Regions from separate parts of the Homo sapiens genome. Here regions 2, 3 and 4 are each linked to region 1. The links are contacts of gene promoters, found by promoter capture Hi-C in human tissues and cell types (Jung and others, 2019). All regions are on one chromosome and are shown on one strand. Each heading gives the region's core, a stretch centred on a gene start or on the middle of the fragment in contact. The rest is flanking DNA. Distances are from core to core; before and after follow the strand shown. Region 1 holds the start of ID4 (inhibitor of DNA binding 4). Region 2 has its middle 360 kb from the start of LNC-LBCS. Region 3 has its middle 250 kb from the start of LNC-LBCS. Region 4 has its middle 330 kb from the start of LNC-LBCS.

Evidence for each region. Contacts are between HindIII fragments. The study calls those that stand out against the background at their distance.
Region 2: a contact is called between a fragment that was not itself captured here and the fragment with the promoter of ID4 in region 1, in 2 of the 25 tissues and cell types used here (H1 embryonic stem cells and aorta).
Region 3: a fragment that was not itself captured here is called in contact with the fragment with the promoter of ID4 in region 1 in 1 of the 25 tissues and cell types used here (IMR-90 fibroblasts).
Region 4: a fragment that was not itself captured here is called in contact with the fragment with the promoter of ID4 in region 1 in 2 of the 25 tissues and cell types used here (IMR-90 fibroblasts and hippocampus).

What each region holds. Positions count from the first base shown.
Region 1 is chr6:19,834,837-19,838,631 of GRCh38, reverse strand. ID4 (inhibitor of DNA binding 4) reads right to left here and starts at 1,262. Exons shown (of 3, transcript NM_001546.4): 1 at 437-1,262; 2 at 1-48. The coding sequence starts at 877. The coding sequence ends at 4. The HindIII fragment of the contact is 7,095 bases long and covers 1-3,795 here.
Region 2 is chr6:19,445,205-19,449,033 of GRCh38, reverse strand. No RefSeq gene overlaps it. Among named protein-coding and RNA genes, the nearest start is that of LNC-LBCS, 360 kb to the left of the region's middle. The HindIII fragment of the contact is 3,137 bases long and covers 40-3,176 here.
Region 3 is chr6:19,550,076-19,553,669 of GRCh38, reverse strand. No RefSeq gene overlaps it. Among named protein-coding and RNA genes, the nearest start is that of LNC-LBCS, 250 kb to the left of the region's middle. The HindIII fragment of the contact is 5,357 bases long and covers 1-3,594 here.
Region 4 is chr6:19,469,437-19,473,394 of GRCh38, reverse strand. No RefSeq gene overlaps it. Among named protein-coding and RNA genes, the nearest start is that of LNC-LBCS, 330 kb to the left of the region's middle. The HindIII fragment of the contact is 8,131 bases long and covers 1-3,958 here.

The DNA of each region.
Region 1 (3,795 bases), core at 13-2,512:
GGCTCAGCGGCACAGAATGCTGTCGCCCTGCTTGTTCACCGCGCCGGCCTGGAACAGCAACCGAACACCAAGGGAAAGGTTAGCAGGCGCAAACAACGCGCTCGACACGGTCCTGGATTGTCCTCGGAAATCAGGCTGGCGCGCCGACGCCCCCACCCCAGCCTGTAGCCGGGGGGGCCCCTCCGGGCTCAGGCGGGACTTGACAGCCCAGGGCGCCCACAGCCCCGAGTCCCGCCCTGCGCGTTCTCCCGGACCCGCGCTCGCCGAGCCCGGCCGGCTGCTGGCGGCCCGGGGGAGCCCGGAGGAGCAGGGGGAGGGGGCTGTCATTCCTGGCCCGCCCCTGCCCGGAGGACGGTGAGCGCCCGCGTCCCGCCACCACGCCACCAACCTCCCATCCCCCGCGGCGTCCGCCCACGGCCGGCGCCCGGCCTCTCACCGGGTCGGTGTTGAGCGCAGTGAGCGGGGTCCGCGGCGGCGCGGCTGGACAGGTCCCGGCCGGGTGGTGTGGCGGCGCGGGCGGTGGTGGCTGCCTCAGCAGGGCCGGGTGCGTCTCCAGCGCCAGCTGCAGGTCCAGGATGTAGTCGATAACGTGCTGCAGGATCTCCACTTTGCTGACTTTCTTGTTGGGCGGGATGGTGGGCACCAGCCTCCGCAGGCGGCTATAGCAGTCGTTCATATCGCACTGCAGGCACAGCGCCGGCTCGTCGGCCGCCGCCTCGGCCGCCTTACAGCGCGCTGCCGCCGCCGCCGCCGCCGCGGCTGCGGAGCCACCCAGGCTGTGGCCGTGCTCGGCCAGGCAGCGCAGCGCCAGCTCCCCGCCGCCGCAGCCCGACGGCGCCTTGCGGCCCGAGGGGCGCACCGGGCTCACCGCCTTCATCGCGCGCGCCCTGCGCTCTACGCGAGCGAACCCGCTGGGGCGAGCGAGGGAGGCAGGCAAGCTCCGGGCCCCGTCCGCGGCCGGCTCCGCTCCCTTTGCCTCCGCGCCCGGCGCGCTCGGGGCACCGCGACACTCCCGAGCCCAACAATTGACGGGAGGGTCGCTCTGGGTTTTACGAGGGAATCTTTGCTCAGTGGGCGACACTCAGCCCGAGCCCAAAGGAAAAAAAAAGCAAAAGCACCGGAAGAAAAGTAGCCCACCCGGGTGTCCTAGTCACTCCCTTCGGAGCTCCGACTAAGCCCGATCGCGGCCGCCGCGCTCCCCTAGCCCGGGATCACCCCACTCCCGGTACTACTCACAACCGCGCCTCCTCCACTACGCTCTCGCCCGGCCCGCCGCGCAGCTGTATTTATAGAGCCGTGCGCCCCGGGGGCGGGACCAGCGCGCGGGCCGGGTCGCAGCGCGAGCCGAGCGGAGCCCGCTGGGCGCGCGGGCGGGGGCGCGGAGGGAGAGGCGAGGGCGGGGGCTCCGGGCGGTGCTGGGGGGCGGGGAGTCCGGCTACCCGAGTGGAGGAGTGGGCGGGGGGTCTGGAGTGGCCAGCCAATCAGGCGGGCAGTGCCACCTCGGGGAATGACGCTCGGGCCAATGGGAAGGGCACTCCATTCCGTCAACGCTGTGGGTCGGGGTTCTGAGAAAAGAGAGCTGAGTGGGAGTCGGGCCAGGCTGATGTGTGCCCAAGGGAGGGGAAAAGAGAGAGCGAAGTTCCTGCGAAGAACTGCGGGAATGTGCGGCCGGAATTCACTCTCCACCGCCCCCCTTATCCCGACTAGGCTGCTGAGGGAGCGCCTGGGCCCTGCTCGCGGATACCCTGCCACTCCTAATAGCACGGCGCCCAGGGACCCTCCGCCACCCATCACTCCATCCGTGGGATTCCAGTGCCTTAAGAAAGACGCGCTGTTCAAGAAGGCACGTTCATTCTGTTCTATATTTCCCTCCTCCGTTTCATTATTCGCCTTTTCACATTTGCCGAAACCATAATGATGGAATGGAATGTGTAGCCTTTCCGTTTTCTTTTTAAAAAATGCTAAAGCTTAGCAAAAGTAGAAAAAAAAAGAAGGAAAAGAATGCCGAATCGAATGCAGGTTTTTGGTGAAGGGAATATAAATAAAACAAAAACGTGGGGGGGGTTCTTTTACCCCATCTAAATGCAAAAGTGGGCTCAAGAAATGCAGTTGCCTTGCGCATTCAATTAGAGCACGTAAAGATTAAAAATGCATGGACACGGAATATTTAAAATTCCATTATGACATATAATATTAATCTGTTTTATGTAAAATTCATACCTGTAACTTAATTTAGGCCATTAATGCACAGCTTCACGTATTAGTCAGCGTACCCCGCTTTAAATAAGGTGATGAGAATGTCCAGAGTCGCCTCCTTTGACAGCAAAGCATTAAAATTCACACTTCCAGTCTCTGGGATCCCGCTTGGGCCCCACCCTGCAAAAAAAAGCCTGTTAATTAAGGGCGTTTTTGTGTTAGATTTCTTAGAGAAAAGCTGTCCTTCAAGGGTTCAAAATAAAATTGCACAATGAGCTTTGGTGGAGCATTGTGTGTACCCTTCAAGAAAAAATTGAGCCCTTCAGATGAGAAAGGTGCATAAAAATTCTCAGACAATGGGGAAATGAATTTTGAGTGCCTTCACTCTACAAACCCTCCCACCTTTAGACACGCTTGGAGATGAATTAACCCAAGAATTTTCTTCATTCGTGTACATGACATGGATTGGTGTCTTCATTTTCATAGATAATTGAAAGAAAGAGACATGGACCTCATTTCTTCCTGTCTACCCCTATATGGACTTTTTCTACATCCATTCCCAGAACTGAAATACCTGCACCAGGCAGATATTTTGTTTAGCTATGTCAGTGCTTTATGACTATCGCACTATTCCCCAGAGCACATTCCTTTCTCCTGATGAAATGAGGAGCAACTATTTAATTCTGGTTTCACAGGTAGATGCAATAACCCTCCTCTCCCCTAATCCTTGTATGTTACTGCTTCTAATAATTGTTTGGAAACAAGTGCCATTCTCATTTATTTATGTGCATACGTAGATGGTCTACATACACATTAATCGAGAAAATCAGAATTATGAAACTCAGAAGGGCTTTCTTCTAAAGACAGGCATAGTCATATACATCATTAAATTAATGCAAATACAGAGAAAATGTTGTAATTTTAAATGGGAAGTCGGTGAAGCCAGCACTACTGGTTGTAAGCTATTATCTTGGAGCCAGTCATATGAGCACAGACGATAATAATAAATGGATATATGTACAGATGTTTTGTTCCATTGATCTTTCTCTTTCCTAGAGTTTAAAATTTGCTTCCAAATTCAAAACCCAAGACTTTCCTCTGTTTGGCAAAATAAAACTATGCTAATATGCCCAGGACACACTTACATTTAAACATTTTACATATCCTAACGATTAAAATTAAAATTTAAGTTTTGAATACGTAACACAAAGGAAGAATCATATCGACCTTTTTGGAATTTGCTAAATCTCAGAAAGCCATGCCTTGGGTGTGACAAGCGCCAAATGCCTAAGTTTCAGGTTTTGTTGGAGATGCTCTGTGTGACTGGCTTAAAGTTAGAAAGACTGAGTTACTCTGTGTGGGGTGGGGTGGAAGAGGTGGTTTCAAAGGAATGTACCTCAGCCACAAGATCAAGAATACCCAGGAAAGATGTGATCCGTAAATCCTGCTAGCAGAGTAGGCAGAGGCAGTTACTGTGCTCCTTGTTTTGAAGGTTGGAAGGCATGAAGACATTAAAAAATTAAAGTGCTACCATATACTATGGGAATAAGGAATACAATCCTGCACGTTTTGGTCCATGAAACCAGAGAGTACTAGGGG
Region 2 (3,829 bases), core at 359-2,858, 390 kb after region 1:
TTCTAGCTCTTTTAATTTTCAAACCAAGTTTAAAGAGAGTCATTGAAAGTCACTTCAAGTAATGTTTTAAGGCAAAACACCCTAAGCTTTTTTTTTTTTTAAAGTACATGGTGCTAAGTAAAGTTTAACTCTTAAAAGATTAACTATGGTGTAATGAATGTGTACTGTCCATGGACAGCTTCCTGGTCTCACCTGGGCTAATTATTTGCGAATTATTCTCTGCTTTCAACTAAAGTGTGCACGCACACACACACAAATGACTTGTGCATTTGTGTGTGTGTGTGTGTGTGTGTGTGTGTGTGTGTGACCTATTTCTCATGCCATTCGCTTTGTGTGTGCCACTAGGGACCTTTGAGGGATCACATCACAGGGAGCCGAGGATATGGCAGAGTAGCTTCTTTTTCAACCATTTTATTGTTGCTCTTGAGCCTGTAACTGTAGCCTATATATAGCACAAGGCTTTAGGGCAAGGCTCCCTGCATTACCTTTCTCTGTTATTATAAGCTCATCTCAGAGTTAATAATTTCCTCCAAGGAGGTGATGCTGTAATAAAGATAATTAAATTGAAATTTAATATAGTGGGGCATTGTACTATAGCTTTATATCAGATGAGGGTTCTGAGAGAAACCATTGCTGTGAGGGTGGAGTGTAAGGTATGTAATTAACAATTATGTTTGTCAGGTTTATGAAACAGAAAATTAATAACATGGAGACTGTAAAACAGTGAACAAAGCTGCAAATTCTAAATTAAGGTGACTAGGCCATCATTTACCCCTAGAGCAATAGGTGTCTTTTTTTTTTTTTTTTTTTCAGAAATAGAATGCAGGATCATGTTGATTTACTCACTTAAAAAAAAAAAAAAACTTGTTGCACTCCCAGACAGAATATTTTCTCTGTAGCACAGTGATTCTCAATCTTGGCTTTGCAGTAGAATTACTTAGAAAGCTTTTTAAAATTCAGGTGCTTTCTTAAATATGCTGTTGGCCACATACATGTTTCTTTTGAAAAATGTCTGTTCATGTCTCCTGCCCACTTTTTAATAATTTTTTTTTGCTTGTAAATTTAAGTTCCTTCTGGACACTAAACCTTTGTTGGATGCATAGTTTGCAAATATTTTCTCCTGTGTTTAGGTTGTCTGTTTACTCTTTGCTGTGCAGAAGCTCTATAATTTAGTTAGATCCCATTTGTCAATTTTTGTTGCAATTGCTTTGGCATCTTCATCATAAAATCTTTGCCAGGTCTTATGTCCAGAATGGTTGTCTTTCAGGGTTTTTTTAATATAGTTTTTAGATTTTACATTTAAGTCTTTAATCCATCTTGAGTTGATTTCTGTATATGGTGTAAGAAAGAAATCCAGTTTCAGTCTTCTGCGTATGGCTAGCCAGTTATCCCAGAACCATTTTTTGAATAGGGAGTCTTTCCTCATTGTTTATTTTTGTTAATTTTGTTGAAGATCAGATGGCTGTAGGTGTATGGCTTTGTTTCTGGACTCTCTATTCTATTTTATTGGTCTATGAGTCTGTTTTTGTACCAGTACCATGCTGTTTTGGTGACTGTAGTCTTGTAGTATAGTTCGATGTGGGATAATGTGATGCCTCCAGCTCTGTTCTTTTTGCTTAGGATTGGCTTGGCTTTTGGGCTCTTTTTTTTTTTGTTCCATTGGAATTTTAAAATAGTTTTTTTCTAATTATCTGGAGGATGTCATTGATAGTTTATAGAAATAGCATTGAATTTGTAAACTGCTTTGGGCAGTATGGCCACTTTAATAATATTGATTCTTCCTATCTGTGAGCATGGAATATTTTTGCATTTGTTTGTGCCATTTCTGATTCCTTTGAGCAGTATTTTATAATTCTTGTCGTAGAGGTCTTTCACCTCCTTGGATAGCTATATTCCTAGGTATTTTATTCTTTTTGTGGTTATTGTGAGTGGGATTGCATTATTGATTTGGCTGTCAGCTTGGACGTTGGTGTATAGGAATGCTAGTGATTTTCGTACCTGGATTTTATATCCTAAAACTTTGCTGAAGTTGTTTATCGGATCAGGGAGCTGAGACTATGGGGCTTTCTAGGCATAGAATCATATTGTTCGCAAACAGGGATAGTTTGACTTTCTCTTTTCCTATTTGGATGCCCTTATTTCTTTCTCTTTCCTGAATGCTCTGGTTAGTATTTCCAGTACTGTGTTGGATAGGAGTGGCAGGAGTGGGCATCCTTGCCTCAAGCTGGTTTTCAGGGTAAATGCTTCCAGCTTTTTTCCATTCAATATGAGGTTGGCTGTGGGTTTGTCATAGATGACTCATTATTTTGAAGTATGTTCCTTCATGCCTAGTTTGTTGAGAATGCTCAAGATCACTAATTATTAGAGAAATACAAATAATTTCATATCAGTCAGAATGGCGATTATTAAAATAACAGATGCTGGCGAGGTTGTAGAGAAAAAGGAATGCTTATACACTGCTGGTGGTAATGTAAAGTTCAGCTGTCGTAGAAAGCAGTTTGTTGATTTCTCAAAGAACTTAAAACAGAATTACTATTGGACCCAGGAATCCCATTGTTGAGTATATACCTAAAAGAATGTAAATCATTCTACCACAAAAAGACACATGCACACATATGTTCATTGCAGCACTGTTCGCAATAGCAAAGACATGGAATCAACCTAAATGCCCATCAATGGTAGACTGGATTTTAAAAAGATGGTACATATATACCATGGAATACTATGCAGCCATAAAAAAGAATGAGATCATGTCCTTGGCAGCAACATGGATGGAGCTGGAGGCCATTATCCTAAGCAAACTAATACAGGAACGGAAAACCAAATACTGCATGTTCTCACTTATAAGTGGGAGCTAAAATTTGAGTACACATAGACACAAAGAAGGGAACTACATCCACTGGGGCCTACTTGAGGGTGGAACATGGGAGGAGGGTAAGGATCGAAAAACTACCTGCCATCTTTAATTCCTTTGAATAGTGTTTTGTAAATATCCTTGTAGAGGCCTTTCACCTCCTTGGTTATTGGGGATTATGCTTATTACCAGGGGGTGACAAAATAAAATCTGTACACCAAACCCCTGTGACATGCAATTTCCCTGTATTTCAAATTTGCACTTGGACCCCTGAACCTAAAATAAAAGTTAAAGAAAAGGTCCTTGGTGATATAAAAAAATCCAGATGCCCAGGTCCATCCCAGACCAATCAAAGTAAAACTTCCAGGAGTAGGACCCAACTACCAGTATATTAACAAGCTCTCTAGGTGATCCCAATGTGTAGCCAAAGTGGGAGATCCTGTTAGTAAATGTTTAGTGTGATTGATTTCCCTGGCGGAGAGTGTTAGGTTAGAAGAAAAGGAAAAAGAAAAAAAAAAAAAAAAAACAGGAAAGAATAACTGCATAATAATTAATTATTCATAGACTGTACTTATCCTGACAAATAAAAATTTACAGAATTTGTCCATGAACAGGAGGTATTATTAAGACAGTATTGCCATTTCTGATATTTAGACATCCATGTTTCCAGGGAAAACAGAGAAATCTTGGCCCCTTCCTATACTCCGCCCTCTGGGCTACCAAAACCCATGAATGTTTGAAGGTTTCTGAATGAGGCCACAGAATTTCCCAAATTATTATGGGCAAGTGCTGGTTCTGTCTTTGCCAATCTGGGCTCTTATACGCTCCATGGCAGAATGAGAGGGAAACATGGCCAGAGTGATGATCACACAACCAGGAAGCAGAAGAAAGTGTGTTTGGCAAATCCCCATTCTAACCATGCCTTCTGCATAAAGGCAGGGTCTGGGATCTCTGCAGAAGCTGGTATATGTATGT
Region 3 (3,594 bases), core at 207-2,706, 290 kb after region 1:
AAAAGTACTAGATTGACCCTCTGTATTGTGGTAGAGTAGCTCATTGTAAAGGACACATTTCTTATCTATTTTTAGAAACTGGCAGAGTTTCAAATGACATTTCTATTTTTATAAACTTATCTGTGACTTCATGTCTGAAATCAATACATATGAAGGAAGAAAGATCATTTCATTTGTTCTTTCTAGACGCTAAGGCTTCAGCATTTATCTTTCCCACAATTGAAACTCTCATGTAAAGGTACTAACAATACTAATCTTTCTTATTTTTAACCTGAATCTTTTCTAGCATTTTCTCATCTCCAGAAAAGAAAGAAAATGTCTTCATATACTTGAAGATAGTTATTCTCTCTGTATCAGTTAGCTACTGCTGCATAACAAATAATCATAAAAATCTCAGTAAGTAAAAAAACATAAGCATTTATTCTTACAGATATGAGGTAGGCTGAGGTTCAGCTGACTGCAGCTGTCTAGGCTGGTATAGGTTCACATGAGCTCTCACTCTCCAGCTGGGGTCAGTTTATTACTATTTCCACAAAATTGCAAGTCTCAGCTTTTGCATCTACTCAAAGTCTGTTGTTAAGAATATTTTGAAGATGGTATTTTCCTCTTCCAGGGCCATGTGATAAAATCCTTTTCCAGGAAGAAATTATCATCACAGAAATTTGCTCATCTCAGTATATAAGGCCCTTCTGCTCTAGCTCTCTAGCATCTAAATGCTCTGTGTTCTACCCAGCCATGTATAAAATATGTTCCTTTGATGTGAAGAATAACTTCCTGATTGGGATTGAGCTGAAATGGGGCCCTCCTTTGGGCAGAAACATAAGTGACATCATAATTCCTGCGAAACATTTACATCTTCCCAGCCTGCATCACCTGAAAATTTTGCTTTGTAATCAATTTTATACCTACTGTCATTTGGGCTTGAATTCCTCTTTATTAAGGATTAGATAAGACGTTGGTGAGGGGCTGGGAGGAGAGAGAGAGAGACAGCATGTGCATGAGTCTTTTGTATGTGTATGTACCTATGCATGTGTATGATTAAGCAGAACATATTTATTTTATAATTAAGCATAATCTTTATTCCTTTAATAGCAGTGCTATTAAGTGCATCTGACGTCCATCAGCAAGTATGAAATATTAATTTGTAAATGTTTCATTTGTAAATGACCCTCTCCCACACATGCCAAGGATCAGTACTTAAATTTCATCGACTGTATTTTTAAAATTTCCAATCTGAGGACCTGTGAGAAAAGTTACAATTTAAGATCTTTGCTCACATCTTATTTTCATGTTAACCAGGCAGAACAGGCTGATTCAGATGTTTGGAAGCATCAGAGTACTTAATCTGTTACCACTGCTTTGCATCCTATCATGTTCTAGACTTCTTAGGAGCAATCTTTATTTATTTTTGGAGCTCACAGATTGCATTTGAACGAGTCAGGAATATTTTCCAGCTTATTTTAGTTAACTTACTCATATTTTGCCCAAGTGGAGAAAAAATACACTGTTTTCCAAAGAGTTAGTATTAGTGCCATTCTAGTGATAGAATATTATTTTACTTGATTACTCCGAAGACAAAAGAAATTCTCAAACTTGTCTGGTTTCATACATGCACATGAAGGTGTAGACCTGCCCAAATAGCACATTTCTCTTCATTAGATAAATCAAGTCGAAGTTCTCACTGAAATCTTGTGTTTTAATTTTACTTCCCACACCTAAATACTTAGTGTTTTTAAGTAATCCTTATTCCTTGAGCTCATGAGTAAACCCACAAGCATTACTTCACCTTTAAGAGCTACTCGAGTGATAAATATCCATGTTTGACTCAAAGCATGCACTCCCAGTGATGATGGGACTAGTTGCCTGGTTATTTGTGGTTATTTTTGTAGCACCTGTGGATTCCAAGATTGGTCATTTGTTTCATCAGAAGTATGTGTCATACATTTTTATTAATTCACTGAACACAGGTGTTTCCTGATTATCTACTTGATTAAGTATACGTAGCTAGCGACCAAATTAAAACAGAACAAATAGGACCTTCCATGCTTACTTCCCTTCCCATATCCATTTTCATTATCATATAATGTGAAGCTCAATGGCCACTGTCTTGTTTTAATTTGGTAGAACCTAAAATCACTCCAGACTCTTCTCAGTGCCAAGCACAATGCCTGTTGTTTGTTGAATGAATACATGAATGTATGACTGAATGTATGCATGTATTTATGAATTCTTTTAATATAAACAGTCACCACTAATGCCAGGACCATGGATAAACAATCCATGGATAAACTTTTATTTTTACTCTTATTTTAATCTTCACTTGCAGATATTATTCTTGAGCATTCAGAGACTGTCGGAAGCAGCATGCAGCAGGGAGGAATAGAGATAAGGACTCTAACAAGGGCCAAATCTTTCTGCCCATTAATCAAACTCATAATTCCCATTGAGACAGGTAAAACAATGAATAGCACTAAGGAAAAAATTACTTTATATCATGAGCATATTTAAAAGCTAAAATCAGTGACTGGTGTCCCAGGGCACAGCAGAGATACTTCTAAAAGGCAAAGAAGTTTGAAGACTCTCATTAAGGAGATGTCGCCTGCATGCACAGATAAAACAGGAAAGAAAAATGTATCTAAAGTTCCAAGGAAATGTAGACCATATTCTTCCTCCCACTCTATTTCACTGAATGATTCTCTAAGTTACAATATGAATAAAATGGAGCTTGAAATAGACAAAATGGGACTAAAGCTTTTTTTTTCCATGTAATATCTTAATGGAATTCCTACACCCTACCTTCTGCCCAAGATTATTTGGCTTTTCTATATACTTAGGAAGGAAAATTTTAAGTTTGTAGTTAATGTCACTTTCAATAAGTACCACCACTGTGTTTCTAGATACCCCATGTTTAGGGTATTCAGGGGATATATTTATTTGGTCATGCCTTACCCATTTAGATTGGGTACCATTTGTACTTGCAAGCTTTAATGGAAATGATAGCTAAAACGTGAATGAATGCCTCCTCTGTGGGTAAAACTAAGCCTAGATGCCAACAGCTATAGCAGTTAAATATGCGCCAATTTTCATAAAAAGAGCAGCCATAGGCAATGAAGGCTGGGCAGAATGCACAGAAACAGAAAAAGCCTCCATGAGTTGCCTTCTCTACAGTCTGCCTTCTCTACAGTCTGCATGCCTGCCTAACCCTTTACTAATGCTCTCCTTCACCCCATAAAGAGATGCACACACCCCTGTGCACATCCTGTGGCCAAAATTAGAGCAGAATTTCTCTTTTTCTCTCCTTTCCTCCTGTAGCAAAGAAATGTCAACTCTGTTTTCTTAAAAGCATATTTTTGAAAAATCATGCCCCACTATTTGGAATTCTCCGAATGACTGTATTTCAGATTCCAGAGAAGAGCGATTCCTACAATGATTTGCATTTAAGCATGAAGGGTGACAGCCAAATGGCTCATGTGCCCAGTTAGCCATGTTAACTTCTAGTTTTTAAGTCTCCTAAAAGTGCAACACATTAAAAACTAAAACTAAGATCAAACAAAAACAAACAAAAAACAGGATTCTCTATCATCTAATGCACAG
Region 4 (3,958 bases), core at 1,196-3,695, 370 kb after region 1:
GACTTGGCCATATTTGTTTTTCTTGCCAGAGATTGAGCACAGGAATGCCAGCCATCATCACTTGGCTAGACCATGGGTTCCCAAACTTACTCCATTCACAGCATCTTTAATGTCTTAGCTCTTTTTCAAAGTGCATCTAGCTAAAGCAAAACAAAACAAAAACAAAAACACCCTAAACCTAATAGTTCCATTTATTAATTGAGTTTAGGTCCAAGCCTGCTTATTAAGTTGATTTATGTCCAAGAAAAGTCGTGGTAATAATAGCTCATGTGGTATTTGACAAATGTCACTATGTTTTCCTCTAAAATGTAGTCCATCCTGCAGTGCCCATATGAATCACCGCAGCACCAGGGCGCCCTCAGCGCACAGTTTGGGAACTGCAGGGCTGGACTAAAAACAAAGCCTGAATCAAATTGTGTCTATTGTGTCACTTCTCTGCCCAAACTCCTTTCATATAATTTCTGTGTGGTTGATATTATTTTTTAAAAATGTATATCAATGTAAATATTGAATATTATTTCTATACTCTAGCCTACTGAGTTTATCCCCAGGGATGGAAATATGGAAAAAAAAAAAAATATATATATATCTCATCCCATCCCTCTCCAAATGGAGGAAAGTGATAGTAGTAGGTACAGTGTCGCAACTGAAAAATAAAATTTTTCTGGATCAGCCATTCTAACAGCATTTTACACCCTATGGACAAAATTATTTTATTAGTAAGTTTTCTGTAAAGTTTGGGAGCTTGAGCCCCCAAACCAGTGTTTTCTGGTTCCCTTATCCTAATTCCTAATTGCAATGGAGGAAATGTACTTCTTATTTTACAAAAGTAGTGATATGGACCTGTATCATTAAGCTCACTAGCGCCAAGCTGCAGTGGTGTTCTGACTCACCATGGCCATGGAGTGTATTATGAGGTGAGGTTCATCGCATACAGAGGTAATAACGTTCTAGTCTCTCTTCACTTACTCAAAGGTCATGACAATGCCTCAGGCAGTGAGGGAAGAATTCTAGTGCAGCCCAGGTTCCTTGGGAAACTCTTGCATTCTAAGGCAGCAGAGCCCTGACTTGGCCAACCACAGATGTGTGCAAAAGACAGGTCTGATGCATGACTCATAGACCCCCCTGAAGGGTTCCTAGAAATACATTAGGAAATATCTGTAAAGCGATAGCCTTCTTTAAGAAAAGAAAGTGGAAGCTCTGAGGCACTGAGAATTTTCTCATGGTTTGGTGAAGATTGAGATGCTGAGGTGCATGTTTGTCCTTTGCCTCTTGGTGCAGGAGCCACTGACTACTTCTCTCCCCTGAACACGTGCTGTCCTCATCCCTTGCAGTGCTGGTGCAGAAGCGTTCTCTTTCACTAGTGATTATAAGACTTTGGAAGCATGGAAAAGTTGACTGGGTGGGCACTTGTGTGAAGATGCCTTTTGTCAAATTCAAAAAGCACTCTCAGGCTATGCATAACTCATTCAAATAATGGTACAAGCTCCCCACCCAAGCGGAAGCTGGGAAAGCCTCAGTCTCCCTTTATTCTAGCAAGTTAATTCTGGTCAACTCAAGTCAAATGATTATCCCCCAAATCATGTTTATTATGACCCCTATGAGGCCCTGAAGAGCTTCATGTAAATTAGAATCTTGACTTTCCACACTATTCGTGAACCTCCCTTAATTTAATTGTACTCTCTCCCTTTCCCCCAAGGTTAAAAAAAAAAAAATTAATCCAAACTTCCCTACAGTCGCATTTTCTTTGTGAAATCTTTTGATATAAAAAAATTATCAATTCCAGTGACTTTAATCACTTAATGAACCCTCTTATCTTTTTGCTGTTCCACCTTCTGAATTACTTATGGAGCAAGCCAATTGAAAGTGCCCATTGATGGAACTTTTGAATGGAAACAGATGCAGGCTTAATTTTGCATGCCAACACGAAAGGCAGCATCCACAGTTTTTGGGATTCAATTTGAAAATTTAGGTTAATTAATTTTAGCCTAAATAACTCTGATAACGTTATTCATTAAGGGGTTTATTGTAGAGATATGTATGCCGTTCCTTATGAAAGTTCCTTGAAATTTTCTCTATTAACTATTTTAGTTTTTAGAGTAAACTTTTATAACTTTACACTAGCTGAAAGTGGAAGAGAAATATAACAGATTAGAGCCAAAGTACTTATCCAGAACCGACATTTGAGAATCTTTATAAGGCTATGTGTGACTCCCATGGGAGTTATTTTTTCATAGTTTTGTATAAAATTACAAAGAAATATGGTTCAAAAGTGAAGGTACCTCCAAAATCTGGAGAGCCATGCCTGAATTTATGATGTTGGAATTGCTTTTGTAACATTTATTTATAAATTATATGTTATTTTAAATAAATGATTTAATGATATTTGCTACTTAGAAAAATCTTGCGGCAGATCCTTCTAAAATATGAAGGATTCTTGGGTGAAGTCATCAGATACTCCCATGTATATGTGCTGTGTGGTTGTATTTTTGTAAAATAGATTTTCTCAAAGCAGGAGACTCTTAGACCTAAATGTTTCCTCATGCCAAATTGTTCTCTATCTTGGGAGAAGTGGGCCAGGCGCAGGGGGTGCACTCTGCTCCTCTGAAATGGTCACCTCTGTTTGTGAGTGTGTGTATGTATGAGTGTGTGTATGCATGTATGTGTGTGAGTGAATCGAATGTGTGAGTGTGTATGTGTGTGTAAATGTGCATATGTGTGAATGTGTGTATGCATGTATGTGTGTGGGAGTGTGTGGATGTGTGAGTCTGTGTATATGTGAATGTGTATGTGAACGTGTATATATGTGTGAGCATGCAAATGTGTGTGTATGTGTGAGTCGGGGTATGTTTGTGTATGTACGTGTGACTGTGAATGTGTATATGTGTGTATGTGTGTGAACGTGTATGTGTGTGTGTCTGTGTATGTGTGTGTGTATGTGTTAGTGTGTGAATGTGCATTGTGAGCGTGCAAATGTGTGTGCCAGGGTGTGTATGTGTGAGTGTATGCGTATATATGTGTGATTGTCAATGTGTGCATATGTGTGACTGTATGCATCTCTGTGTGAGTGTGTGTATGTGTGAATTTGTGTGTATGTGTGAGTCTGTGTGTGTCTGTGGGAGAGTGTGTGTGTGTGTGTGTGAATGGGCAGGAGTAGGCAGGAGAAAGAAAAACATTCGTAAACTGATTAGAGGTGGACCCTCAGTAATAGCACAGATATGATCTCACTGACCGTCAAAGCCCCTTGGACTTCCTTCTTTTGGACTTCAGACCTCAGAGTTTACACTCTTAAATGGCATATTTTTTCACTTCTGGTTTAGTGTTCGTAGGTATGCTACATTCTTTTTCTTCATTGTTCTCATTCTCTTTCTCTCTTTTCTCTCTCTCTCTCCCCCCCGTCTCTCTGTCTCTGTCTCTATCTCCCTCTCACTCTCCCTCCCTTTGCCTTGGATGTGTGTACATAGTCTCTCTGCATTTGACCCTCGTCGTGCATGCAGTAAAGGTTAAAAGGGTGCTTTTCTGTGTGCCTGTCTTTTCACCTGAGAAGGAGGAAAATAATAAATTTATAATTAATGTGGATGTTGTTTCTATGGATTCATCATATTTTCTATCTTGGTAAAGAAAAGGGAAGGGTGGTAGACAAATTTGAGAAAATTTAAGATTTTTATAAAATATAATTCATAAAGAGAAAAAAAGGTATTAGTATGTTTACTATGAAAATCTGAGTGACAGGTCTCTACAGAGAATCCAGAAACAAAATTGAGACCAAGGACCACAGACCAGATGCTCAAAAAGAGAGAGGTCTGGAGTAAGAGGCATCAAATGATAATTCAAGGTAAATATACATATTTTTTAGGGAAAATCTTACATCCTTCAGTCAATTAAGCATGCAAAAGAAGTATCCAGAATGGTGGTTTATGCAATTTTATTTCCCAGATAACTAGCTTTTGGAGAAAGA